7 separate regions of the Homo sapiens genome follow, and regions 2, 3, 4, 5, 6 and 7 are each linked to region 1. The links are contacts of gene promoters, found by promoter capture Hi-C in blood cells and fetal thymus (Javierre and others, 2016). All regions are on one chromosome and are shown on one strand. The core of a region is centred on a gene start or on the middle of the fragment in contact, and the rest is flanking DNA. Distances in the headings are between cores, read along the strand shown.

Evidence for each region. Contacts are between HindIII fragments. The CHiCAGO score rates a contact against its expected background, and 5 or more counts as called.
Region 2: a fragment that was not itself captured here is called in contact with the fragment with the promoter of CCDC59 in region 1 in 1 of 17 cell types (fetal thymus); the score reaches 10.0 in fetal thymus.
Region 3: a contact is called between the fragment with the promoter of GALNT4 here and the fragment with the promoter of CCDC59 in region 1, in 7 of 17 cell types (non-activated CD4 T cells, total CD8 T cells, naive CD4 T cells and 4 more). The highest score is 14.4, in non-activated CD4 T cells.
Region 4: a fragment that was not itself captured here is called in contact with the fragment with the promoter of CCDC59 in region 1 in 1 of 17 cell types (total B cells); the score reaches 6.9 in total B cells.
Region 5: a contact is called between a fragment that was not itself captured here and the fragment with the promoter of CCDC59 in region 1, in 1 of 17 cell types (non-activated CD4 T cells). The highest score is 5.6, in non-activated CD4 T cells.
Region 6: a fragment that was not itself captured here is called in contact with the fragment with the promoter of CCDC59 in region 1 in 1 of 17 cell types (total B cells); the score reaches 6.4 in total B cells.
Region 7: a fragment that was not itself captured here is called in contact with the fragment with the promoter of CCDC59 in region 1 in 1 of 17 cell types (total B cells); the score reaches 6.3 in total B cells.

What each region holds. Positions count from the first base shown.
Region 1 is chr12:82,356,567-82,360,205 of GRCh38, reverse strand. CCDC59 (coiled-coil domain containing 59) reads left to right here and starts at 1,819. Exons shown (of 4, transcript NM_014167.5): 1 at 1,819-1,983; 2 at 2,937-3,246. The coding sequence starts at 1,830. It overlaps METTL25 (methyltransferase like 25), which reads right to left and starts at 1,677. Exons shown (of 12, transcript NM_032230.3): 1 at 1,382-1,677. The coding sequence starts at 1,640. RefSeq lists enhancers at 889-1,449, 1,380-1,939, 1,450-2,010. The HindIII fragment of the contact is 1,548 bases long and covers 507-2,054 here.
Region 2 is chr12:74,544,286-74,547,924 of GRCh38, reverse strand. ATXN7L3B (ataxin 7 like 3B) reads right to left here. Exons shown (of 1, transcript NM_001136262.2): 1 at 2,495-3,639. Among named protein-coding and RNA genes, the nearest start is that of ATXN7L3B, 8.3 kb to the right of the region's middle. The HindIII fragment of the contact is 7,760 bases long and covers 1-3,639 here.
Region 3 is chr12:89,523,546-89,527,184 of GRCh38, reverse strand. It overlaps GALNT4 (polypeptide N-acetylgalactosaminyltransferase 4), which reads left to right and starts at 2,389. Exons shown (of 1, transcript NM_003774.5): 1 at 2,389-3,639. The coding sequence starts at 2,636. It overlaps POC1B-DUSP6 (POC1B-DUSP6 readthrough), which reads left to right and starts at 1,138. Exons shown (of 11, transcript NR_189589.1): 1 at 1,138-1,304; 2 at 1,981-2,065. POC1B (POC1 centriolar protein B) reads left to right here and starts at 1,138. Exons shown (of 12, transcript NM_172240.3): 1 at 1,138-1,304; 2 at 1,981-2,065. The coding sequence starts at 1,290. POC1B-GALNT4 (POC1B-GALNT4 readthrough) reads left to right here and starts at 923. Exons shown (of 3, transcript NM_001199782.1): 1 at 923-1,304; 2 at 1,981-2,065; 3 at 3,512-3,639. The coding sequence starts at 1,030. It also overlaps POC1B-AS1. RefSeq lists silencers at 1,183-1,442, 1,993-2,372 and an enhancer at 2,463-2,672. The HindIII fragment of the contact is 3,011 bases long and covers 840-3,639 here.
Region 4 is chr12:75,482,133-75,485,771 of GRCh38, reverse strand. The region is part of intron 2 of GLIPR1 (GLI pathogenesis related 1); the gene reads right to left. GLIPR1-AS1 (GLIPR1 antisense RNA 1) reads left to right here. Exons shown (of 2, transcript XR_007063373.1): 2 at 1-2,318. Among named protein-coding and RNA genes, the nearest start is that of GLIPR1, 3.2 kb to the right of the region's middle. RefSeq lists a silencer at 223-392 and an enhancer at 2,700-2,749. The HindIII fragment of the contact is 850 bases long and covers 1,216-2,065 here.
Region 5 is chr12:75,504,857-75,508,495 of GRCh38, reverse strand. It overlaps KRR1 (KRR1 small subunit processome component), which reads left to right. Exons shown (of 10, transcript NM_007043.7): 2 at 50-222; 3 at 1,580-1,714; 4 at 1,887-2,012; 5 at 2,097-2,180; 6 at 3,242-3,298. Among named protein-coding and RNA genes, the nearest start is that of KRR1, 4.9 kb to the left of the region's middle. The HindIII fragment of the contact is 3,394 bases long and covers 175-3,568 here.
Region 6 is chr12:76,074,409-76,078,047 of GRCh38, reverse strand. The region is part of intron 1 of NAP1L1 (nucleosome assembly protein 1 like 1); the gene reads left to right. Among named protein-coding and RNA genes, the nearest start is that of NAP1L1, 8.5 kb to the left of the region's middle. The HindIII fragment of the contact is 155 bases long and covers 1,641-1,795 here.
Region 7 is chr12:76,553,127-76,556,765 of GRCh38, reverse strand. The region is part of intron 1 of OSBPL8 (oxysterol binding protein like 8); the gene reads left to right. Among named protein-coding and RNA genes, the nearest start is that of OSBPL8, 4.8 kb to the left of the region's middle. The HindIII fragment of the contact is 287 bases long and covers 1,748-2,034 here.

The DNA.
Region 1 (3,639 bases), core at 570-3,069:
AGGCTAAACACGTATTAAAGTCTTACACTCTAAACTTGAGAGTAGTTTCATTTTATTTATTTAAAACTAACATGAGTAACTCATTAATTCCTCCATTCAACAAATATTCATCCAGTATCTAATGTATGCCAAGTATTTTACCAAGTGCTGGGAATACATCAGTTGACAAGTCAGACAAAGACTCTGCTCTTTTGGAGTTTAAGTAAAATTGTCATATCATAAGTGCCATATATTTATTATGAGAGCAAACTGAAGAAGTGCCTAACTTTTCAATAACAATTACTTAAAAAAACAACAACAGTATTTACCAAGTGCTATTATAAGAGGTCCCTCTAGTGATGCTTTGCATTCAGAGAATGCTCAATGAATAAAGTTCACTAGTAAGGGTAACTTTGGGAAGTCTAGAAGGAAAGTAAAAATCCCAGAAGCCTGTTGGTGTCCATCATTCTACTTCCAAAATATGCTTGCCTGAGAAGAATCTACATTTCTTGAGGGTAGGAAAAGCTTGAGCCTACAAAAATTCAAGACACATATTAGGTACTTTAAAATAGTTTTTAAATGAAATAGTGACTATCCGAATACCATCCTAGTCCAAGATACAATCATCTGTTGTACTACTGAGGTAGTCTCCTAACTGGCCTCTCAGCTTCAGCTTTTGCCCTAGTCTATTCTTCAAATAATTCACAGTTATCTTTTCAAATGTGAATTAGGTCACTATGTTGCCTAAATAATCCCAAGGGTTTCCGTCACACTTAAAATCCAAAATCCTTCCAAGGCCTAGAAAGGCCTGTGCCATCTGGCCTCTGCTTGCCTCCCGTCCTGCACCTGCAGCCCCTCACCTGGCTAGAGCCAAGCCTAGCCTGCGGTTCCCACCGCCTGCAACCCCTCCCTGTGGCTCTGCAGCTAGTGCCTTCTCATGTTCCTGACCTCCTAAATTGAGGCAGCCTCCTTACACAATCCCTACCACATTACACTGTTTTTATTTTCTACTTCATTACCACCACTTGAAATTATCTTTATTAACTGTTGAGTAATCTTCCACCACATGCTGGCATTTATAAAACCTGTGAGAGCACTGCTCCCCTAGTTTCCCTAGCGTCAATTATTATGGAATTACTAGATGAAGGAACTCCCCTGCCCTGTTTCCTGCTTTCTTTAAATTGTGGACATACACAAGCACCCAAAGAAAGAGTGATCCTGATTCCAAAGAACATCCCCACCCCACCCCTCAACTAATCCGACCCCTCCTCGGTTTCCCAGCGGGCCGCCCCGCCTCCGCCGCCACGCACCTGGTTCTGCTGGCTTCCACCAGGGGGCTCGCTTCGTCTGCCGGGACCTTCTCCTCCGCCTCCCTTCCCGCCCCGCCTACCCCACCACCCACCTGCTTCCCACTCTGCTTCCACTAGGGGGCGCGTCTCTGAGGGCAGGGCCTCCGTCTCCGACGCTGACTTCCTCAGCGCAGCCAGCACTGTCTCCGGTGGCAAGTCGACCAGCTCCTCCCACACGGATTCTGTGTAGAAATCCACGGTATGTGCATTGGAAATGGACAGGGCATCCCTCAGGAACTGCAGCAGTCCCTGCAACTTGGCACGCAGCGTGGGCAGGTCCGGGGTCACCGGGAGAGGGCAAGAAGCCGCCATGACGCTCACCCTCCGAGGCTGTAGGTGGCGCAAACATGGCCGTGAGGCGCCAGCTCGGCCCAAATTAGCACAGGCAGGCTCAGTAGAGCTCCGAGCCGGATTCCTTCTGAGCGATTGATTGCTTCGGCTTGGTGACGTATTTTGTGGGCGTCCGTCGTGGTCTTCTGATGACGCAGTTAGTCGGCTGCAATGGCGCCGGTGAGGCGGTCCGCGAAGTGGCGGCCTGGTGGTATTGAGGCGCGTGGTGAAGGGGTTTCCACTGTCGGGTACAGGAATAAGAATGTGAGACAGAAGACATGGCGGCCTAACCACCCGCAAGCCTTCGTGGGGAGCGTTCGCGAGGGTATGTAAGAAGGCAACCATTTGCAAATCCTCAGGCTTGCTAAGTTTTAGGATATAAGATTCGCTGAAGCTTGGAAGAAGGATTTAGGAACCAGACCCGGTCCTACTTGGGGCAAGGGAATTCATTCCTGAGCCCGCTAAAGCTGTGAGCTTCGCAGAGCTCTAGATAGGAAGACGGAGCAGTGTTGCTATTATTTAAACGTCTTTTCTGACGTAACCCTGTATTTCATCAGAACTTTTTTCCTATATTTTTCCTGAGAAACTGAGCAGAGAGAGTCTATGACCCTGTGAACTCTTGCGCATGTGGTAAGGTAAAGGATAGAGAGGAGGACAGGGCCAGAAACACTGCTCCGAATTCTTCCTTATTACAAATACCCGAGGCCCTCCAGCCTTCGCTTTAATTTGTGTTTGTCATTTTGTATTGCTGTCTGTAAGGTCTCTTAGATCCCACTTGGAATATATAAATGTTAAATTCAGTCTTCCGATAATTGCTAGCTTTTCAGACAACCATACACTGTCTTTTTCTTTCGTGTTGAAACATTTTCGAAAACATGTAGTTTGTCCAAGATACTAGATGTGGCATTTTCTTTCCTATTTTTTAAGCATTTATTGAAGGCTCAGATTAAGTGTTTTAGATGAACTAAGGAATTTGTTTTGATTTGTGAATACAGCTGTAAACTCAAGTTGTGCAACAGTCTGAACTGGTCAGTTTTTCTTTGAGATTCTTACTTGGATTTCCGCATGACTGTTAGCCTGGTCTTTTTGCAAAGGGCCAACTTACTATGCAATCCATCAGCTTAAATTTGTTGCTTGAAATAATTTTTTAAAGCAAAATATAATACTAGAATCTGAATGTGATGACGTAAAAAAAGTTTTCATTTGTAATTAACAGCTCCATTCTTCGTTCAACTTCTTTTCTCTGAAAGTAATTTTGGATGATATTCCTCAATGTAGGACAAGGCTTTGCTTTTCGAAGAAAACTGAAAATACAGCAAAGTTACAAGAAATTGCTACGGAAGGAAAAGAAGGCTCAAACGTCACTGGAATCTCAATTCACAGATCGATACCCAGATAATCTGAAACATCTCTATTTAGCTGAAGAGGAAAGACATAGGAAGCAAGCAAGAAAAGTCGACCATCCTTTGTCAGAACAAGTTCACCAGCCGTTGCTTGAAGAACAGTGTAGCATTGACGAGCCTTTATTTGAAGATCAGTGTAGCTTTGACCAGCCTCAGCCAGAAGAACAATGTATTAAAACAGTAAAGTATGTATTTTCTTCATTTGAAATCCTTTAAGTGTTGTTTTATTATTTAAAAGTACTATAGGATAATTTATATAGGAATTGTATTTTTTCTTATTTAACACATTTTAGAAGTCACGGTTTAATTAGGGAAACATTTTCATGGAGGCTCTATTTTTAGCTTCAATAACTGAATTAGGCTGGTTTAGCCTAATTGACAAAGTAACGTAATGGGAATTAAGAGCTCTGGAATTTGGGTTTCTTCCTCTCAAGTACAGGTGGTAACTTGATTGGACCATATGTTATGACTATATTTTTGAAAAATAACTTCTGAGAGGTGTTATAATTTTAGTCATTAACAGTATGGGTTCTAGAGCCAGACTCAACATGTTAGTGCCCCAGTGACCTCTTCTTTAA
Region 2 (3,639 bases), core at 669-3,168, 7.8 Mb after region 1:
TTGAACCCGGGAGATGGAGGTTGCAGTAAGCCGGGATCATGCCACTTCACTCCAGCCTGGGTGACAGAGCTAAACTCTGTCACACACACACAAAAAAAAAAAAAAAAAAAAAAAAGAAGAAGAATAGTTTGAACGTTGCTATCCTTCTTCTCATATTCTCATATGTAAATCAAGATATAGAGCAAGCACCTTTTCTGTGCCTTGGTGAACTGACATACTCCTAAATCTGGATCAGCTTATGACTGTATTAGGTTTTTATTGTTGTATAATGACATCACAAACTTAGCTTCTTAAAACCTTCCTTTATTTTCTCACAGTTCTCTAGTTCTAAAGTCACAGTCTGCTAGGCTGAGCTTTGTGCTAAGGGTCTTACAAGGCTGACAACGAAGTGTTAGCTAGTTTGGGCTCTTATCTGGATGCTCTGGCAAAGAATCTGCTTCCAAGCTCATTCAGGGTTTTGTTTGTTCGTTTTTTGCAGAATGCAATCCACAACCTATTATTGCCTTAGGTCTGATATCCCCATTTCTTTGCTATCTGTAAACTGGAGGCCACTCTTAGCTCCTAGATGCAGCCACATTCCTCTCATGTGGCCCAGTCCATCTTCAAAGCAAGCCATGGTGCACTGAATCTTTCCCACACTTAAAATCTGTCTTCTTCCACTACTAGATGAAGAAAACTCTGATTTTGAAGTGCTTATGTGATTGGGTCAAGACCACCTACATAATCACCACATGTTAAGGTCAACTGACTTGGGACTTTAATTACATCTGCAAAATCCTTTCACAGCAGATTACTATTTGGTTGAATAACCAGGGGACAGGAATCTAGAATTCTCCTTAGCATACTTGAGACTGAGTCTCACTCTGTCGCCCAGGCTGGAGTGCAGTGGTACGATCCCAGCTCACTGCAACCTCCATCTCCCAGGTTCAAGTGATTCTCCTGCCTCAGCCTCCCAAGTAGCTGGGATTACAGGCACTCACCACCAAGCCTGGCTAATTTTTGTATTTTTACATCGTATTTTGTATTTGGTATGTTGGCCAGGCTGGTCTTAAATTCCTGACTTCAAGTGATCTGTCCACCTCGACCTCCCAAAGTGCTGAGATTACAGGCGTGAGCCACCGCGCCCGGCCACAACTTACCTTTTGCACTTTCAGTATCTTGAAATATCTGACATAACACCTAATGTCGTTTATTGACAGCTTTGTTTCTTCTGAAACATCTTCATTCTTTTTCATTACGGCCAATGTTCTCATTGACTGAGTTCTTCTGGCTGTATATCTTGGGCCTCTAGAATGTTGTGTCACCATTCTGAAGATCAGCCATCTTCTAATTACATTCAATTGCAATTCAAGTGTTATCACTTTTTTTCTTTGCTGCACTTTCACTTTTTGATTATCTATTTTATTTAAAAAATAGCATGTAAGTTTATCACTGGGAGACGAGGCAACACAACTACTCTGCTGTGCATGAACTGCTTCATTCTGATTCATTCCTTCTCTTTTTCCAGCTTGATTAAACTGAGATTTTACCTATACAATGACGTTAAATTTTTTTGGAATACATTCTTTGCACTTTTATTTCTATTACTTTAATTTTTAAAACTGCATTATTTTCTCCTGTTCTTTGCTCGTTTAAAATTCCATCTACTAATGTACAGATTTCATTTAAGGCCATATTCTGTATCTAATAATTCTGAGAAAGTTCTAATTATATATAGTCAGCAGAAATAATAAACTATAGAGTTAGAATTCCTTTCTTGTAAACAGATTTATTAGATAAAAAGTATGATGGCTATAAATGAAATCTTTAAAGAAACAGATGCTTCTTTTATTGCAAACTTATATTTTGTGAAAATGTTGAAGGAACAAAATTTTGTCAGGTAGCCAAGAGGTACAATATCATTTTCAATACATTATGAAATTCTCAGGTCAAAGTTTCTCTGACTGGCAGGGTAGGGTAGCTATGTGAAACCAAGTGTATGGGTACACATTCCCAAAGTAAATGTTGATGATAATGGCATGACTGTTATTATTTTAGTCAATTCATTTCACCTCAGGCAATAGCAGAGTCTTTCTTTTTCATCTGTTCTCTCTAAAGTAATGAAGGTTTCTCTTATCTGTCCACCCATTAATCAATCATTTATCAATCTATCTAGTTTTACTCTGCCCATCCTTTCACCAAGGATATAAACTTTATTTCAGGCATCTTGCATTTACAGTTTCAATTTGTGATGATCAGGGTCTAATCTCCCAGTATCATATGGTATCTATATTTTCCTCAGTGCACTCTCCTTTTCTGTTTTCATTTGTATCTTTGGGGTGTGTGTGCGTTAGAAGAAAGACCTGGGTATTCTGGGTATTTCCTTCACTTCCTTGGGAACACAGTAATGCATTTAAGAGTATCTTTACCTCAATTTACTTAGCATACTGATGTCCTATATCAATTAGTCTGCTATCTACAGGAACATAACCATGAAAGTGGAAGTCTCATCCAATATTTTTGGTATAGTTTTTATTTCATATTCACAATTATTTAAACAACATACAGCATTGATTTGCCTATTGTTAAACATCAAAAGAAAGGCAACAAAGTATAAGAACATAGGTTTACTATTTTATTTGTACAGCTCTGGTTAATTTATTCTCACTTCAGTATAGTGACTATATGTATTCCAAATGGGTATATTACTTTCAATTTTTCCCTATTACATATAATGCTGCAACAGGTGGAAATATTGGGATATTGGTTACTTTTGTCTTCAACCACAACAGGTATTTCTAAATTGCTTTTAAAAACATTTTTTACCAATTTACAGCCTACTAGCAGTTTAAGTGTTTTAATTGCTCCATATGCCTTTCAGAGTTGATGTCATCACCATTTAAAAAAATTTAATCATACTGAGTAGGGTAAATTGGTATTTTGTTTTTAGTTTGCATTTCTTTGAACCTAAGGGAACTTTTACAACTTTTTGGCCATTCATATTTCTTTTTGTAAGAATGAGCTGTTCTTTTACTTTATACATTTGGCAATTGTACAACTATTTTGTTAGTAATCTTTAATCAGTTATAAGAACTAAACAACTAGCACATCAGGTTATTGGTTTGTTTGTTTCTAGTATGATTTAATGAACAGAAAGTTCTATTTTTATTATGGTCGAACACATCAATCTTTTCTCTATGTTTTGTACTTTTAAGAAATTTTCCCCTTATACACAATTATGAACACATCCTCCTATATTTTTCTAGAAAGATTTGACATTTTTTACTTTTACACATTAAATCTTTAATCCATATAGGAATTAATTTTGTGTCTGAGCACAGTTTTATTATTTATGGATAATCTGTTCCACAATACTGGTTTATATTCCACTGATTATAATACAAATTTAACCACACATCAAGACATAAACGTGTAATCTGTGTGTTTCGATCTAATTCTAAACTCTATTCTATTCCATTGTTTCTGCACCAAAACTAAAATATACATCTGTCAAAAAGATCTTGTCTATTCTAGCATCTGGTGTTCATATAAATCTTAAAATTAATTTGTCAAGTTCCATGAGCACATCTATTTGGATTGTAATACAGATTGCTTCCGATTCACATAATTTGGAGCAATGATATTGATTGCATTTTCTGT
Region 3 (3,639 bases), core at 1,140-3,639, 7.2 Mb before region 1:
TGAGTTCTTGAAGGTAGGGGAAATATCTTAGTCATCATTGTGTCCCTCAAGGCCAAACATACAACAGATATTTAACAAGTGTATACTTAAATTAACTAATACTGTAATCTAAAGCCTACCTGTTTAGTTGTTAAGTACCATATTCAATAAAATTAAACTCAATCACTAGACAACTAGGGAATCTGTAATTAAGGTGTGTAGCATACCTTTCATTTGCATAAAACACATGTCTTACCAGCTGTGTTCTATCATGCCCTTTGATGTTGCTAAGGATCTTTACACTATATGTAATTTTCAGCTCAGAACATCACGCTTTGAGGCAGGGTTAAAAAAAAAAAAAGGATATGGACTTGGAATTAGAAGAACTGTCTCTGTGTGACCTCTAAGACCAATATCTAGGAATCAAGTTTATAACTTGGAAACATTGAAAACATTTTGTAATTCTACCAACTTCATTGTTTGGCTGAAGCACAAATGATACTATGTGTAACAAAGCCTGCTGTAGAAACGTGGTCTCACAAAAAACAAACAAAAAAAACCATGTTTCCAAGTCTTCCTAAAGACTTTAAGTATCCAGCTGTGTAAGTTTAGTGCTCTAAGGTATACGCAAATAAGCAGATGAGAATGGAAACATATCGCAGAAAATTATTAAGTGCATGCACAACATTTATTCATTCATTCACTCATTCATTCATCACGCACATCCAGCAACTATATCAATATCCTGCAGGGCACTGTGTGGAAAACAGTGGTTAAATAAATTCAAATCTGCCCTCAGGGGATTTAGTTCCTTTTAGTATATTAATAACTAGCAAGCTGCCCCTCTTCATGTCAAAGCTTTACGTCAACAAAATAAGCGGTAGGGGATCACCTTAAACGTCACGGGTGCTGTCTCTTTAAAACGTAATAGAACTCTGATCGCATCGATCACAGGCTCACAACGCCCTTCCATTCATCGCTCTTATTCCAGTCCTGGTTACTACCCCACTTCCTGACATCAAACCAGGGAGAACGCGAGTGTTAGTTAACATGGCTTGGTGTGTGGCCACAGCTGACCCGGCGCATACCTCCCGTCCTCTCTTTACAGGGCTGGCGGTGTCTCGGGGCTCGGCTGGCCATGCCTGGAGCGCGGGGTTTGACTGGGCCGCCGTTGTTGTAGTGACCGGGAGGCGCTGCCGCTCTGGGCAGACGGTTCCGGGAGCCGCACGGTCCCCTCTCCTTCCCCATCCTCTCCCCTCCCCTCTCCGGGTTCCCCCACCCACAGGAGCCTTGGGCCGACCACTCCCCCGATGGCCTCAGCCACGGTAAGGACGGGTTGGAGGTGGGGGGGGTCCCTCCCTGGAGCCTGTCCCGCGGGCTGCGGGGCCAGGTCCGGGCCGAAGCCGCACCTGGAGGGAGATGGAGGCAGGTGTCCGTAGCCGGGTCCTGAGCCCCTCGTCCCGGGGCGTCCGTATCTCACTCTCTGCCATCGGGGCGGACGGAGTGCGGAACCCAGACCCGGCTCCCGGACGCTCTTCCCCGAGTTCCGGAGCTCCGGACTGAGCTGGGCGGCCCCACGGCCCCCAGAATTCTCGGAGGGTTTCCGTGGAGCGCCTGCGTCAGAATCACCTAGGAAGTATTAAAAAAAAAAAAAGTACCAAAGCCGAGGCGCATCCTCGCACCTGCCTGCCTTGGGCCAGCGGGCGGGGCCCGGGAACGTGCATTTCAAAGGGGCCGCGGTTCCTGCGATGCGCTGGACTCTGGGAAGCGCGAACAGAGCGTTTTGCGGGCTCTGCGGGGAGAGCTGGCGCCGGCGTCTCCCTGTAGCAGGACTGGGCGCCGCGCCCGTGGGTGGGCTGCTGCCCGGCCCCGCCGCCCAGCCAAGCCGCCGCCTGGGTGGCCATTCCCAAGCCGGACTCCGGGGAAGTGGCAGCGTGGATCCCAGCCGCCAGAATTCGAGGTCTGCGGCGGCTTTCAAAACTTGACAACTTTCCTTTCCAGGAGGACCCCGTTCTGGAGCGTTATTTCAAAGGCCACAAAGCTGCGATCACCTCCTTGGACCTCAGCCCCAACGGCAAGCAACTTGGTAAGTCTTATTCTTGTTTTGCTTTTGTAATGAGACTAAACTCCATGGGCCGGAAACCTTTCCTCCTGTCCGGGCAGGGTCCCTAGGAGAACGGCTAAGGGCCTGTATGAGGGTTGAGAGCACCCGGAGACGAGGGCCCAGCGCGGCGGGGCGCAGCTAGGGCCCCCTCTGCCATCCCGGCCCCCAGCCCCCGGCCCGGCCAAGAGCCTCCTATCCAGCGGTCTGGGCCTGGCGGACGACTTTCGCAAACTAACCACCAGGAGGAGTGAGTGGGAAGGGGAGGGGTTTCTCCTCGGCCCGGGGAGGGTGGGGTGTTGGCTGGAGAGTTTGTGAAAAGTTGTGAGCCGAGCAGGAGGAAGTAGGGAGAGAGGAGTTGGGCTGTGCCGGAGGCCGAGGACCGAGAGGGCTCAGGTGACCCCTGGAAAGCCTGGGTGGCTGGAAAGGAGCCTAGCGCCTGCATGAAAGGAAGAACCTGCTGGGAAGTACCTGAGCTCGAGCTGTGGGTTCCGCCGCCCTTCCCCTGCGTGGTGGCTTGGTGGCCGCGTCTGCGCCTCAGCCCTGAGAATCCGGATGGCGGTGAGGTGGACTTGGGCAGGCAAGAGCTGCCTGCTGCTGGCGTTTTTAACAGTGGCCTATATCTTCGTGGAGCTCTTGGTCTCTACTTTTCATGCCTCCGCAGGAGCCGGCCGTGCCAGGGAGCTGGGGTCAAGAAGGCTCTCAGACCTCCAGAAAAATACGGAGGATTTGTCTCGACCGCTTTATAAGAAGCCCCCTGCAGATTCCCGTGCACTTGGGGAGTGGGGGAAAGCCAGCAAACTCCAGCTCAACGAGGATGAACTGAAGCAGCAAGAAGAACTCATTGAGAGATACGCCATCAATATTTACCTCAGTGACAGGATTTCCCTGCATCGACACATAGAGGATAAAAGAATGTATGAGTGTAAGTCCCAGAAGTTCAACTATAGGACACTTCCTACCACCTCTGTTATCATTGCTTTCTATAACGAAGCCTGGTCGACTTTGCTCCGTACCATTCACAGTGTTTTAGAAACTTCTCCTGCAGTTCTTTTGAAAGAGATCATCTTGGTGGATGACTTGAGTGACAGAGTTTATTTGAAGACACAACTTGAAACTTACATCAGCAATCTTGATAGAGTACGCTTGATTAGGACCAATAAGCGAGAGGGGCTGGTTAGGGCCCGTCTGATTGGGGCCACTTTCGCCACTGGGGACGTCCTCACTTTCCTGGATTGTCACTGTGAGTGTAATTCCGGTTGGCTGGAACCGCTTTTGGAAAGGATTGGGAGAGATGAAACAGCAGTTGTGTGTCCTGTTATAGACACAATTGATTGGAATACTTTTGAATTCTATATGCAGATAGGGGAGCCCATGATTGGTGGGTTTGACTGGCGTTTAACATTTCAGTGGCATTCTGTCCCCAAACAGGAAAGGGACAGGCGGATATCAAGAATTGACCCCATCAGATCACCTACCATGGCTGGAGGACTGTTTGCTGTCAGCAAGAAATATTTTCAGTACCTTGGAACGTATGACACAGGAATGGAAGTGTGGGG
Region 4 (3,639 bases), core at 391-2,890, 6.9 Mb after region 1:
GAGACCATCCCGGCTAAAACGGTGAAACCCCATCTCTACTAAAAATACAAAAAATTAGCCGGGCGTAGTGGCGGGCGCCTGTAGTCCCAGCTACTTGGGAGGCTGAGGCAGGAGAATGGCGTGAACCCGGGAGGCGGAGCTTGCAGTGAGCCGAGATCCCGCCACTGCACTCCAGCCTGGGCGACAGAGCGAGACTCCGTCTCAAAAAAATAAATAAATAAATAAATAAATAAATAAAATAAAGCTGTCAAGAGGGTGAGAGGAGGAGGCAGGAAGAGAAAAACTAAAATAAGATCAGTAGCGCCATCTAGTGAGAAATCCTAGCACTATCAAATCCAAGTAATCCTCTACCCTGCCCAGATACTTTAATTAAACTATTTCTAAACTTTATAAAGCTGAACTGTCAGCAACAGAATGTCGAATTTGAGTCATCTTCCATTTTATACACCAACATTTTTTCTCAATGCCAGTCTATCTCCAGTGAAGACAAAGCTAAAGTGTTGAATGAATACATCAAGAAATATCATACATTTTGTGAGGAGTTAATGGGCCTGAATCTATTTTCTTTATTCTGTACAACCTCCCATCATCAGCCAAAATCTGCAAATAGCTCGATTTTTGAAGAGAAGATGAGGATAAGTAGGAGGTTGTAATATCCACTTAAAGTAACTGTTCAGCATGAATTTAACACAGCAATTGAGTAGTTTTGAGTCCCCCAGGAAGATTTCTTGTCATGATGAAAACAGTCTTTCACCTAGCTATCAGATCCTTCTTCCATTATGATTGTTGGAAAACCAGCTTATGTAAGGATCTACCCTTTGTTCAATGCCTACTAAATACTAGTATTTTATTAGGTAATGTATACATATTTTATTTGTCAGGCCTCTGAGCCCAAGCTAAGCCATCATATCTCCTGTGACCTGCACGTATACATCCAGATGGCCTGAAGTAACTGAGGAATCACAAAAGAAGTGAAAATGCCCTGTTCCTGCCTTAACTGATGACATTACCTTGTGAAATTCCTTCTCCTGGCTCATCCTGGCTCAAAAGCTCCCCCACTGAGCACCTTGTGACTCCCACCCCTGCCAGCCAGAGAACAACCCCCTTTGACTGTAATTTTCCATTACCCAAATCCTATAAAACAGCTCCACCCCATCTCCCTTCATTGACTCTCTTTTTGAACTCAGCCTGCCTGTACCCAGGTGATAAAAAGCTTTATTGCTCACACAAAGACTGTTTGGTGGTCTCTTCACAAGGACGCAAGTGAAATTATTATTTAAGCCTTCCAACATATCTAATATCTGAACCTCAACTCTTCATCTTACTAGCTAAATGACATCAGGGGAACAACTTATTAACCTCTCTAAGTCTGTTTATTCACCTGTGGGTAATACCATTAACATCTCCTTAATAGATTTGTGGTAATAATTGAATGAGGTCTTCAGTGTAGAGAGCTAAACACTATGCCCATTTAAAAAGTGATTGCTGCTGCTCTATCTTCCCAGCCCAGGGGGTTCTTGGACATTCTCCCCGTGATGAGTGCCCCTCTTCTGAAGTGGGGGTAGAATGTAGTGGTTTCTTAAAGAGGATCACTCATGTTAGGATCACTGAGCTTGGGTTTTAATATCTGTATGTATGGGACTGGGTTTTAGAAAATGAATTTTCTCATGACCAAAATATTAGTCCTCCTTTTTTCCCTTAGATGTAAGGGGAAATTTTACAAGTAAGCTCAGTTAATTTTGGGAGGGCCATCTGTGAAATCTCAGGCATTTATGGCATAAACTCAAATGTTCTCTTCTTTCGATTTCCTGGAATGGTGAACATGGAGTGTCTTAACTTGTGTATTGAGCATGGTTTAGGAGTCTGTTGTCAATTTTACAGTCTTTTGACCTCTATATATTTGGCATGCTGAGCTTCTTGCCATTGATCTAAAGTACCAGGCCCATTCATACACATTGTATACTTTCCACACCTTGCTGAGAATTCTCTTCCCTTTCCTTTTCATCTGAAAAATTCCCACTCAGTTTTCAAGTACCAATTCACATGTCTCCAGCAGTGTGAAGCTTTACACTTCCTTTTGGCCGGATAAGTTGCTCATTCTGTCCTCCTTGCTCACATGGCACTTTGTCAGCTTCTCTAAATTGTACTAGCCAAACACTGTCATAATCCATTTACACATAAGTCTCTCCCAAAAGGTCAATTTCTGAGGGCCAGGGACCATTTCCAGCTGTATTTCTCCTCCTTCCCTGGCTCATTCCCTATTTCTCCTCACTTCCGCTTCTCCAAGATTGTATCCCAATAAAATGTTAGCTCATAAACTATTGTCTCAGGCTCTGTTTTCCAAGAATCTGGACTAAGACATATCACTAGTGCCTGTTATAGGGTAAAAGCTTAAACACTGACTAATAAATAAATGAAAGTAGGCACCCTCAAACTGACAATTATTTCTGAGTATTTAAATACCGCAATGCATAACAGTACAAGTACCACTTGTAGGCTATCTAGATTTAGCTTTCTACTCCCCTAGGTCTTGTTGGAATCCAAGGAAACTTATTTCCTGGTTAAATTTATTTGTAAATGTAAACCAAAATTGTTAGTTTATGAAGTAAATTTAGGAGAAATTCATTTTACTCTTATAATAATTTTTTGTAACTGCACCAAACTTGGTTCATCTGTAGCACCACGAATGAGATCACAGGCTTTGTAAGGCTGAGCTGGAGTAAGGGAGGTTTTCTTACACCATGTTGTTCCTTAAAACCACCTAATGTTTCAATGTAACTGCCTTGATAGAAACGTTTTTGCCTTCATACCTCATTTCAACTGATTTTTTGTGCCCCAAAACAGTCAATTATAGGTTAAGTACCGTACGTTATTGGTTTGACAAGGATGGCCAGGAAGTGACAGTAAATAAACAAAATGTAGCCAGGACAGGAAGGCAGCGTCTGAAGACAATTATGACAGATGCTCCCTAGAGAGTTGTTTCCATCATGCTGCAAATGTGAGGTAGGGTTAGGGAGCCAGAATCAGCTTGAGTAAAAATTAAAAAAAAAAAAAAAAACTCAATGGGTGGCTCTGAATGTGGCTATTGGGACTAATAATATGGATTCTGGGGGCAGAATACCCTCAGAATGGTTCATATAAGTTTACACGTTGGCCTCTCTGTTGGCCTGGGACTGACTTTTTCTCCCTCCTTGTGTAGCACCGTGCGTGGTGCCTAGTGCATGGCACACAGTAGGTTTTCAGTCGATGTTTGAGAGAATGAGAGGTTGTGGAAGCATCAGTTCTTATTGATGTTTCTGTCTGAGAGTCTTGTTTCTTCCAATTTTATAGTCCCAAAACAATTGGCTCAAATTTCATTTAAAACTCATGCTACAGCTGGAACCTGAAAATCCTTTCACTCATAAGGTTCTTTGATTTCTCACAAATGGAATAAAGTCCTATGGGAGAATAGCTGTTACAGGAATTGTTCAAAGCCTGTCCAAGTTGGTGGGCCTCACATATTACCTATTATGTGTTTAGTTCACACAACTAAACTTTTCAAGCATTATTTTCTGTTCTTGGAGGCTGTTCTATTTAACTCCCTTATATTTACAGGTATACTAGCATACTATACATTTTCTTAACTTCATAGTACAATTT
Region 5 (3,639 bases), core at 622-3,121, 6.9 Mb after region 1:
GTCCAAAAGACAGTTAAAATGTGATGTGTAAATTTTTTCCTTTCTGTAGATGAATCAGAACTCCTTACGGTTCCTGATGGTTGGAAGGAACCAGCTTTTTCCAAAGAGGACAATCCCAGAGGACTTTTGGAGGAGAGCAGTTTCGCAACTTTGTTCCCAAAATACAGGGAAGCTTACTTGAAAGAGTGTTGGCCATTGGTGCAGAAAGCCTTAAATGAACATGTATGTGTATCTTATATCAATACATTTATTTGAGACTTTGCTCTTGCTTATGCCTTTAAATGTATGTATGCTAATGCTTTTTTTTTTTTTTTAATGGTGCTAACATAGCTGGTTACTTTGGTTCCTTTGGTATTCTAAACTATTTAAGTAAGTTTTCTTCTTACCTAATGTTCATTTGTTTTAATTTTATGAGTAATAAATTACTTTGAAAAATTTACATACCTTTAATATTTTAGGAGCTTCACAACTGTCTGAAATTCACCTGTGAAGTCCCAATTTCAGTATGCCTGCTCCAGGCCATGATAGTTGTCATGTATCTGTCCCAGTCTGAGCTGAGTCATGTTTCTAATTGATTACCTTTCATCTTAAATGGAAGATGTGGATGTGTCCAACTTTTCCTTGTTTATTGCTGATGCTATGCCCCTAGATAACTGCATTTTTTTTTTCAAACTGGGGATTGAAACCCATTAGTGTATTGAGAAGTCAATTTAATGGCTATAATGAGCCTTTAGAAAATGACATATCACATGGTAAAAGTATCTTTTTTTGATATTGGCTTTGTTTGTGTGTGTGTGTATATGTATTAGGTTGTGATATAAAATGTGTTTCTAACTGTGGGACTGCTCTGGAGTTGGTTGTGCCATTGTGGGTGAAGGTGGCTCAGCAAGCTGCAGGTTGTGTTTTGTAGCTGCATCTGGGATTGAGCTCATTTTTTTTTTGTAAACTCATAGAGACTCAACCATATGTTGAATTGTTCAGCACTTAACTATGTTGAAATATTCTTGAGATTATGCTCACAAGTGAGAAAATAGCATTTTAATTCGCTTTGTTGAAATCTGTTTTTTCCTGTTGAAAGTTAATGCTTAAGTTTTCTAATCATTGCTTTTTTCTGAAACTATGATAATTTGCTTTTACTTTGTATTTAGTCCCCTAATTAGCTCGAAAAAAGTTTGAAAGGGAAAGTCAATTCTTACCCAATGGAGCAGATGGTAGACTGGAGCTGGGTCCAGAATAGGGAAGCTGTACAGCTTTACATTTTTACCTTAGTCAGATTTTAAGTATGACCTCATTTGTTTGATTTATAATTTTTAAATTAGAGGCAATCTATATTCCAGTGGGTACAAAGTATTCTAAAACCAAGGGTAAATGGTTTCAATTGCTCCAGTTTCTTATAGTCTGTAAAGTGTGAAAGTAATTGAGTATTCATTATTTATACTTAACTACCTAGCTTCTTCAGGGAAGTAATTGATAGGAATTGAGAGGTGACAGAAATTAATAGGTTGGTTAGGAGAGGCTTTATAATTATCTAAAAAAACTCATTTTTAGACAACTGCTTGTTTGCTCTTTCCTTCTGTAGCATGTTAATGCAACCCTGGACCTGATCGAAGGCAGCATGACTGTTTGTACTACAAAGAAGACTTTTGATCCATATATCATCATTAGGGCCAGAGATCTGATAAAACTGTTAGCAAGGAGTGTTTCATTTGAACAGGTAAATCTAGAATTACAGAGACTTTGCTTTGTTTGCATCAGTGTTAACCTATAACATCCCACCATCAAGTTTTCATATTTGTGCTTAGGTAACAATAGCGTGGGCCTGGAAAATGAATGTAATTGTAAAAAATGTTGATAATGTCTTCTTTTTTTTTTTTTTTTTGCAAAAGGCAGTACGAATTCTTCAGGATGATGTTGCATGTGACATCATTAAAATAGGTTCTTTAGTAAGGAATAAAGAGAGATTTGTAAAACGAAGACAACGGCTTATTGGTCCCAAAGGATCTACATTGAAGGTATTTTTTAATTAGTGGAAAACTTGAGTCTCTTCCTTAATACTTTTTCAGAGTAATGAATTTTAACTTGATCTCTTGATACAGGCATTGGAACTCTTAACTAATTGTTACATTATGGTTCAGGGAAACACAGTTTCAGCCATTGGACCTTTTAGTGGCTTAAAAGAGGTGAGAACTATGTATTATCTTCGATTCATTTTCAGCAGAGAACAAATAATTTGGTTATAATATAGTTTATTGGATAATGCTTTATAATTTTATTTCTTTAGAATGTGCTTTGATTTCCCATTAGTAAATACTTTTTATGTCATATAATTCAAGGGAATCATCATATCTGGACCCTAACATGTTTTGGCCAACCTTGGCAACTATGGAGACATCCATTTCTGAATTAGATGGTCTGCACACTATTACTCCTCCCACTATAAAATTTAAATGAGCATTAAGATCTTCAGTCTGTAGCATGTATGAACATGGTATAGTTACATATGTCCAAATGACGGGAAAATTGAGCAAAAATCCAGTTATTTGCAGTAGTGTATACAGCCAGTAGAGGTCACACTCTGAAAACTTTTCTTCAAGATGTAGTTTCTTTTGTTTGAATTTTAGTATAATGTTTAATAACTTTTCATGAACATTTTCTTTAACTTCTCAAATTACATGTGGTGAGGAAATCTGTGGAGCAAATGCTGTTTCTGTTAACTCCTTTTGGTACTATTACTGTCTGGATCTGGCTTGTGAGGTTGTGCTTCCTTTCCAGGGCCTTTAATAGTAATCCTATTGGCCTTTTTTGTCATAAATTGTCTGCTCTTTTCTCATGGAGCAATAATTAAGTATATTGAATACAATTCTTACAAGAGAGTCTTGAGGTATATGGTTTTATCTTATATTACAAATGAGAAAGCTGGAACAGGAAAGTGATTTTCCTGTATGCAGTGGCAGTCCTTGTATTCCAGCCCTCTTCCTCCTAAATCACATTGCTTTAGAGTGTTGTATTAGTTCTCTGTGCTACATTTTAGCAGTAATTGAGAAACTGTATTGTATTCAAGGGAGATTGACTGCCTTTATGAAAGATGGAGAAGCCACTCAGAGCAGTTGAAGGAACTACTTAATTATTTAATTACATTATTTAATTTGGTACCCATTACCTGATTTTTGCAGTATTAATCCTCTTCTCCATAGCTCATTAAAATCCTTGTGACTAATTCATTTTTCTTTGCAAATTTCAGGTTAGAAAAGTAGTCCTTGATACTATGAAGAATATTCATCCAATTTATAACATTAAAGTGAGTGGTAATTATATATAACTGTACCAGTGATTATCATACTTCTTTTAGCTACAGAAACCTTTCTTGAAATTAAATGTTTTATGAAATTCTAATGCACAAACAGATAAAGCAGAGCTATTTTGGGTAAATTAGGGGTAGACTTCAGCCTACTTAATTCTACCCCAGTTTTGTAGGTACTTCTTAGAAGCTCTCTGTGGAGCACAGTGTGAAAACTACTGAAGGGGATACTGTAATATGTTATATAGTTGTAATCAATGAAAGTAAGCTTCACAGAATCTGTTGTAGATCATATCAATCCAGTTTTCTTAGATTATGAACCCATGTATTTAAGGATATGA
Region 6 (3,639 bases), core at 469-2,968, 6.3 Mb after region 1:
ACAAAATGTTTTTGTTAAAAAACATCTGTACTTTTAATTCTTTTCCTTTTTTTTTTTTTTTTTTTTTGAGACAGGGTCTTGCTCTTACCCAAGCTGGAGTGCAGCGGTGTGATCTCGGCTCACTGCAGCCTCCTCCTCTGGGTTCAAGCAATTCTCCTGCCTCAGCCTCCTGAGTAGCTGGGACTACAGGTGTGTGCAACCACGCCCGGCTAATTTTTTGTATTTTAGTAGAGACTGGGTTTCACCATTTTGCCCAGGCTGGTCTCTAACTCCTAAGCTCAGGCAATTCGCCTGCCTTGGACTTTCAAAGTGCTAGGATTACAGGCGTGAGCCACTGCGTCCGGCCATATTTTTCATTGGTAGAATTGATCTGCATAATCTAGTTTGTCGCTTTCAGGAATGAAAGTTTTTCACAGAGATCTTGGAATGCAATTTAATGTATAACAAATAAGATTCTCACTGATTTTATTTAATGTCAACTGCAGTAAAATATTAATACAGGTATTAACCTAAACTTGTGTTTCTCAATGTGGTCTACCTGAGAACCACCTCTCAGAAGCTGAGTTTCTTGTTTAGAATGCAGATTTTTGGGTCCCACTTCCTCAGATGTTTTTCTGCTTTATATAGATGATGAAATAGAGCCAGAAGTTGTTTGTCTTAGTTTGTAGATTGCTACAAAGTTGATGTCAGCCCAAATGATCTGACTACAACTGACTAGAAAATTAGGTCTATCTTACAACCAAGAAATACAATGTAGCCAGAATGGGCAGGTTAGAGCAGCCTTCTCTGGAGGAGTAAATGCCTCCTGTTAATGTTCTGTAAATGTTCTGTCTTGGATCCTCTTTACTAAAGTTTCATTTTAAGAATTTAAACTGTAAATGTAATGCTGCAAATGGACATTGAGGTTAGCAGTGTAGCCATTCTGTGAACACATTAAAATGTTACAAAAATTTAAATTTGGAAGTTTTAGGTTTTGTTTCTGTTTTTGACAATTGCTGGGTTTAGTAGACACTATATATTAAACCTAGCAAATCTCAGAATAAATTTGTGTATTGGAAATTATTATATAAATCTGTGTGTTGGAAAACCAAATGCAGTCATGCACCACATAAATACTTAGCCATTATATTAAAGTTGCCTATGGTATTCAATACAGTCACATGCTGTATAGGTGTGTAGCCTGGGAGCAATAGTCTATATCATAGCCTAGGTGCGTAGTAGGCTATACCATCTAGGTTTGTGTAAGTATACTCTGATGTTTGAACAACAATACAATCACCCAGAGACACATTTCTCAGAACATATAATCCACACATGACTGTAATGGTGAATGGGAAATTAGTTCTCATTACCCCCAGTCCCTTCTTTCTCATTAGGTTACTCTGGTTAGGTTTTTGGTGTTTGTTTTCAGAAAGGGTTTATTTGTATTAAAGTATGTGCGTATATGAGTGGAGATATATATATATATATATATATATATATATATATATATATATATTTCCATATCCAAAGGGGATTTCGGCATACATCCTATACCTTGCTTTAGTGTTCCTTCATATCAACTCAGATCTGTTTCATTTGTGACTGCAAAGCATTCCATTTTTGCATATTCCATTATAGTACTAAGTTTATAATAAGCTTTGTGTGCTACCCCAAAGAAGACAACGCTATGATTGTCAAGATCAGATTTAATTCCTGTAATCATGAATTTTGTCAGTTGGGAGAGACAGACCATAGGTCAAACTAATTTATAATTACAGACTGAGACATCTTATGGTGGAAAGAAAAGAAAGCTTTATAGGAGTGTGTGTACAACCAAGAAATCTTACTTAACCGGAATGTGCAGGTTGGAGAAAGCATCTCTGGGGAGTGAAACTTTGAAATGAGAGCCAAAGGATGTGCAGGACTTGTTCAGAGCTGTGGAAGAACCTTCTAGGTGAACATGGAAAGCAAAGGCATTAGATTCTTTATAATTTTTTCATGGTAGAGCTCATAAGTGAATAAATCTGGAGATGGACATATTTTGTTTTTTTAATTTTTATGTTTTTAAGAGACAGTGTCTCATTGTGTTGCCAAGGCTTGTCTTGAACTCCTGGCCTCAAGCGGTCCTTCTGCTTCGGCCTCCCAAAGTGCTGGGATTGCAGGTGTGAGCCATGGTGCCTGGCTGAGATGGACATGTTTAAGGCTTTTGATATTCCTATTGTCAGGTTGCTCTCCAGAAAAGATACGGGAACACTAGCTGGAAATAAGGATGCATGTGCACTACAGGTTTCCCTGTATTAAAAAGAAGTTATTGATGATGTGGTAGACAAACTGGAATCCTACTTGGATTTCTTTGATGTCAGAGTTCAGTATTTTTCTTATTTTTGATTAATATTCATAATTGCTAAACACTTTGTAAATGCTGACTCATTACCCAGCATCACTAGAAAAATTCATCAGTACTATTAGGAATTATTTATAACAAATACAAAATATTTACAGAGTTAGATACATTAGGAAGAATAATTTTCTTTATAATTACTCTAAAGGATAGATACTAGGTCAGTAATAATGTTTCCCCCAAATATTAGCACTTAACTGCTAAAATCAGGATGTTTTCCATTTTTAACTCTTTGTTCATAGGCATAATACGTTGCTATGAAAGTAAACACATGCAGGATTTTGTGAATTAAATATGTATTAAGATTTTAATTTTTACCAGATAACTTGATTCTATTTATTCATAATTTTTTTAGAGACAGGGTCTTGCTGTATTTCCCAGGCAGGCCTTGAACTCCTGTGCTCAAAAGATCTTCCTGTCTCTTGGGCAGCTGGGATTACAGGCTCTTGGGCAGCTGGGATTACAGGCTCGTGCCACTGTGCCTGGCTAAGATAAACTTGATTTTAACATGGATTCTATCTAAACTTGGTTTAGTTTTTTTTGGTAATCTGTAGATTACCTGTGGCATTCTACCATTTTTTTCTGCCTGGATATAACACATCTGCTTTAAGATTTGTTTTTCCAAAAGCAGTATTCTCCAGGTTCATACTAATCTTTTAGTGAGAAGGAACTTAGGATATCCTCTGGTGAGTCTTAACAGTAAACTTACTCAGGTCTGGTAACCACAAGTCTTGACAATGTCCCTAGCATATCTAGGGGAAGCTGGAGGTTGGTGGTTGTCAGTTATCTAACATGAGGTACATGTACATTTGGAGAGATAGGGAAGGCTTACCTAACATTAAGATTGGGACCTAGAGCTTTTGAAATAGTCTAAATGGCTATTTGATCCAGGGATTAAGTCTTTTAAAAAGATATCCAGAGGGCATAGTGAGTACAGTAGGCATCAGATTTTGGTTTTCTTAAACATGAATTACATAAAATGAATATTGCTAAATACGAAATGGATAAATGGATTTAAGATGCTACGTAGTCTAAAAATTTAAGCAGAAATTGACCTTTCTTGATTGTTGAAAGAATTTGAATGAAGATCCTTTTGTACTGTTCCTTTCCTATGATTCTAGCAAATGTTAGTTTTGTTTTTAACCAATGGTGCTATTATCATAGTCTTTATACAACAGATTCTAAAAGCTTAGTGGTAACTTTTTTGTTTTAAGTAATATCCTCTGAAAAATTATTTTTGGTACTAGTAAGGAAGA
Region 7 (3,639 bases), core at 642-3,141, 5.8 Mb after region 1:
CATGAACCCAGGAGACAGAGATTGCAACGAGCCAAGATCATGCCATTGCACTCCAGCCTGGGCGATAGAGCAAGACTCAGTCTCAAAAAACACCAAAAAAACAAAAAGCCTCTGAGAAATATACAATTTTTAGTGAAGGTGGCTGGGTACAAGGAGATTAGTAGAAGTGCTTGACTGGAGCAGTTGTGGCCAAAGTATAGCTTCCTTGTGATGAGACACAGGAAGAGATGTCTAGACTCATGTTGTGTGCATATTTCATGGCAGTATGTGGGAAACCCCTGAGAGATTTTAGATCTTTCTTCCCACCTTGGTCCCCATCCCTCACATATCCTCACAAAGTCATAAAATTCTCATGTGGAAGGCGTGATAGAAGGAATTTTTCTTCCTGAAAAGTGTTATCAAGCTTGCAAGGGAGAGAGCTATTTTCGGAGACCTTATAGGGAAGAAATCCTAGTCCTAGAGCATCATATTCTTATACCCTGTTATTTTTACCTTTGTCGAAGATCCAGATAATGTAAATTCTCCATGATAGCAAGGACCTTGTCTGTTTTGCTCACCATTGAATCTCCAAATGTTCAATAGTTAATGAATGAAAAAAGTCTACTTCCAGATATATGACTGGAGAACAAAAGGAGTATCTGATAATGTAGTCCAAACTAAATGCAAGCAGCGAAATGATAAAGGAAGGATGTTAGCTTGGGAGAAGGGGAACAGGTCATTTAATCTGGGAAACTTTCTTGGAGGAGGTGATTCTTGAGTTAGGTTTTGGTGTGGGCTGTGTGTCTGAAGATAAGCAGTGTCTAAGGGGGTAGACAACGTGCAGCAAAGCATTTAAGTCAGACTGAATAAATTATGTCAGATAAAGCACAGTAAGTCTTTTTTTGTAACATTATGAAGAATTTTTATTCTCCCATCTCTATTTTCACCTCTCCCTAAATAAAAAGATTAACTTGCTTTGCAACAGCAGAGATTGACAGTACTTGAGTTTTGGAAGTACGATAAGGGTCAGAAAATTTGAATTGGTGTTCTGACTGAATCTTATACAAGCGTCGTTTCCATCGGCCAATCACTTGGTCTTAGTTTTCTCATTTGTAAAATCAGGATAATAATCCATGATCGTTGGGAGAACAAAGTTATATAATGCATGTGAAAGTGCATACCTCAATATGAATGTGCCTACCTCAATGTGTCACACATAGGAGGACTTCAGCAAATACAAAATTATTAAAACGTTTGTCTGCAGATCTTTAAAACATATTTTGATTCGTTTATCATGAACTCTAATATTTGCTTGACTCATCTAGATGACTCATGGCATTATGTTTAAATTGATCAGAATCAAAATTCTAGATAATTTTCTTTCAGTCAGTTTAATGTTTTCTGGTAGAAATGAGGCCTAATTGTATTACTGCTTAATGTTACAGACCACAAGGAGTGCTAGAAGCCTCAAATTTTTGAAGCTCAAAGTAAGGGATATGTGTAGCTGAAAATCTGAGCCTTTAAGCTTTTTTTCTCTACGTAATTTGTTTTTGAAGAAATTGTCTTTGCCTGTAATGTCATTTATCTATTCATTGTTGTGATGAAATAAGGGGTTTTCTGGTTGTTAAGAAAAAATTTACCAAAAATATTTTCTGTTTTTAGTGATGTGACTATAAGCCATGAAGATCTCTACCATCTGTGTTTTATTATAAAATTCAGTATTTCTTGAGCAAACAAACAGACATCTGCATTATTTCTTATCTAAGCTTTTTGTGCCAGTAGCTGTTCATTTATGAATCTCAGAATTTCATTATACTTTGTGAACTCTTTGTAGTGTTTTTGATCCATGGAGCAGTCTGTCCTTTGTATAATATTTGGAAGAGAATTTTATTATAAAAAGACTAAGAAGAGTCTTGAGCCTTTTTATTATACAAAGACTAAGAAGAGTCATCAAATGATAAGCCAGTTACCTACTAATTTCCATATTCAAAAAGGACTGAAAAAAAGAGGAAATGGTTTCAGAGCTTGACTTTTTTCAAATAAAAAGGAGAAGCTTTTTGATTTAGAGTTTTTGAAAACTTGATAGATTCAGAGGGAAATTGTTATAGGTCATATTAATAGCTAATGTGCGTCAACTGCTATATACCAGGTACTGTACTACTCTAGAAGTACTTGACATGTCATCACATTTGATCCTGACAACCACCCCGCAATCAGGCTATTTTCTTTTTTTTAAACCTGAGCAACTGACAGATTAAATAAGTGGTGGAGCCAGGATTTGAACTAAACCTGAGGCACAGAGAAGTTAAGTAGTAGGTGGTAGAGCCTACTAAAAGGATTTAAACTTGAGGTTTAACCTGACCTTTGACTTTGGAGCCTATCCTTTTAACCATCATATTATATACTGCCTTGTATAATTTATTTGCAGTTGCTCCTCTTGATACGTCTTGACCTTGTGATCTTCCTGAGTCTGTTTTAGTTGTGTCATTTACAAAATGCACTTTACTTTATAAGAAGATGGAATATAGCCTTGATTTTTTTTCTCTCATTTTACTTGTATTTGACTGACATCCTATTTTTAAATCTTAAAAATACTTAGAGTAAAGCAAATATTTATTTTATTGTTCATCCAGTTGCCATTTTCTCACTGGGGAATTTCAGAGAATTTCGGAGTAACTGGAAATTAAAGAACATAATAGATAACAGTATTTAAAGCTAAGTTGTTATAATTAAAAAATAGTTTTAAAGAATAAGGCTGATTCACAGAATTGGTATGCATTTTTTTTTAGTGTTTTTTTTTTTTTTTTTTTGAGATAGAGTCTCACTGTGTCACCTAGGCTGGAGTGCAGTAGTGTGATCTTGGCTCACTGCAACCTCTGCCTCCCGGTTTCAAGTGATTCTCATGCCTGAGCCTCCTGAGTAGCTGGGATTACGGGTGCATGCCACCATGCCCAGCTAATTTTTTGTATTTTTAGTAGAGATGGGGTTTCACCATATTGGCCAGGCTGTTCTCGAACTCCTGACGTAAAGTGATCCACCTGCCTCGTCCTCCCAAAGTGTTGAGATTACAGGCGTGAGCTACCTCCTCTGGCCTTTTTTTTTTTTCTTCTGATACAGGGTCTTGAGCTGTCACCTAGGCTGGAGTGCAGTGGCACTCACTACCATGGCTCACTGCAGCCTCGACCTCCCAGGCTCAAGTGATCCTCCTGTCTCTGCCTCCCAAGTAGCTGGGACTACAGGCGAATACCATCACACCTGGCTAATTTTTAAGTTTTTTTTTTTTTTTTTAGAAACAGAGTCTCACTATGTTGCCCAGCTTGGTCTTGAACCCCTAGCCTCAAATGATTCTCCCACCTTGGTCTCCCAAAGTGCTGGGATTATAGATGTGAGCTGCCATGCCAGGCCTATTTAGTGATATTTGAGGGACACAGATCTGTACAGTTGAAATCTGTCCTGTTGAGATGACCACCAGTAAGGTAATTTTTGCTTTTTGGCTGCCAAATGCCTACATATTAGCAGGAATAGTTTGTCAGATTACATAATTTTTTACAAGGAAGGCTGGGGCCCATGTGGAAATTATGGAATCTATGTTGGTATATTTTGATGGGATGGAAGTATGGTAGATCTGGAGAGAGAGAAGTTCAATCTAAGTAACATTAT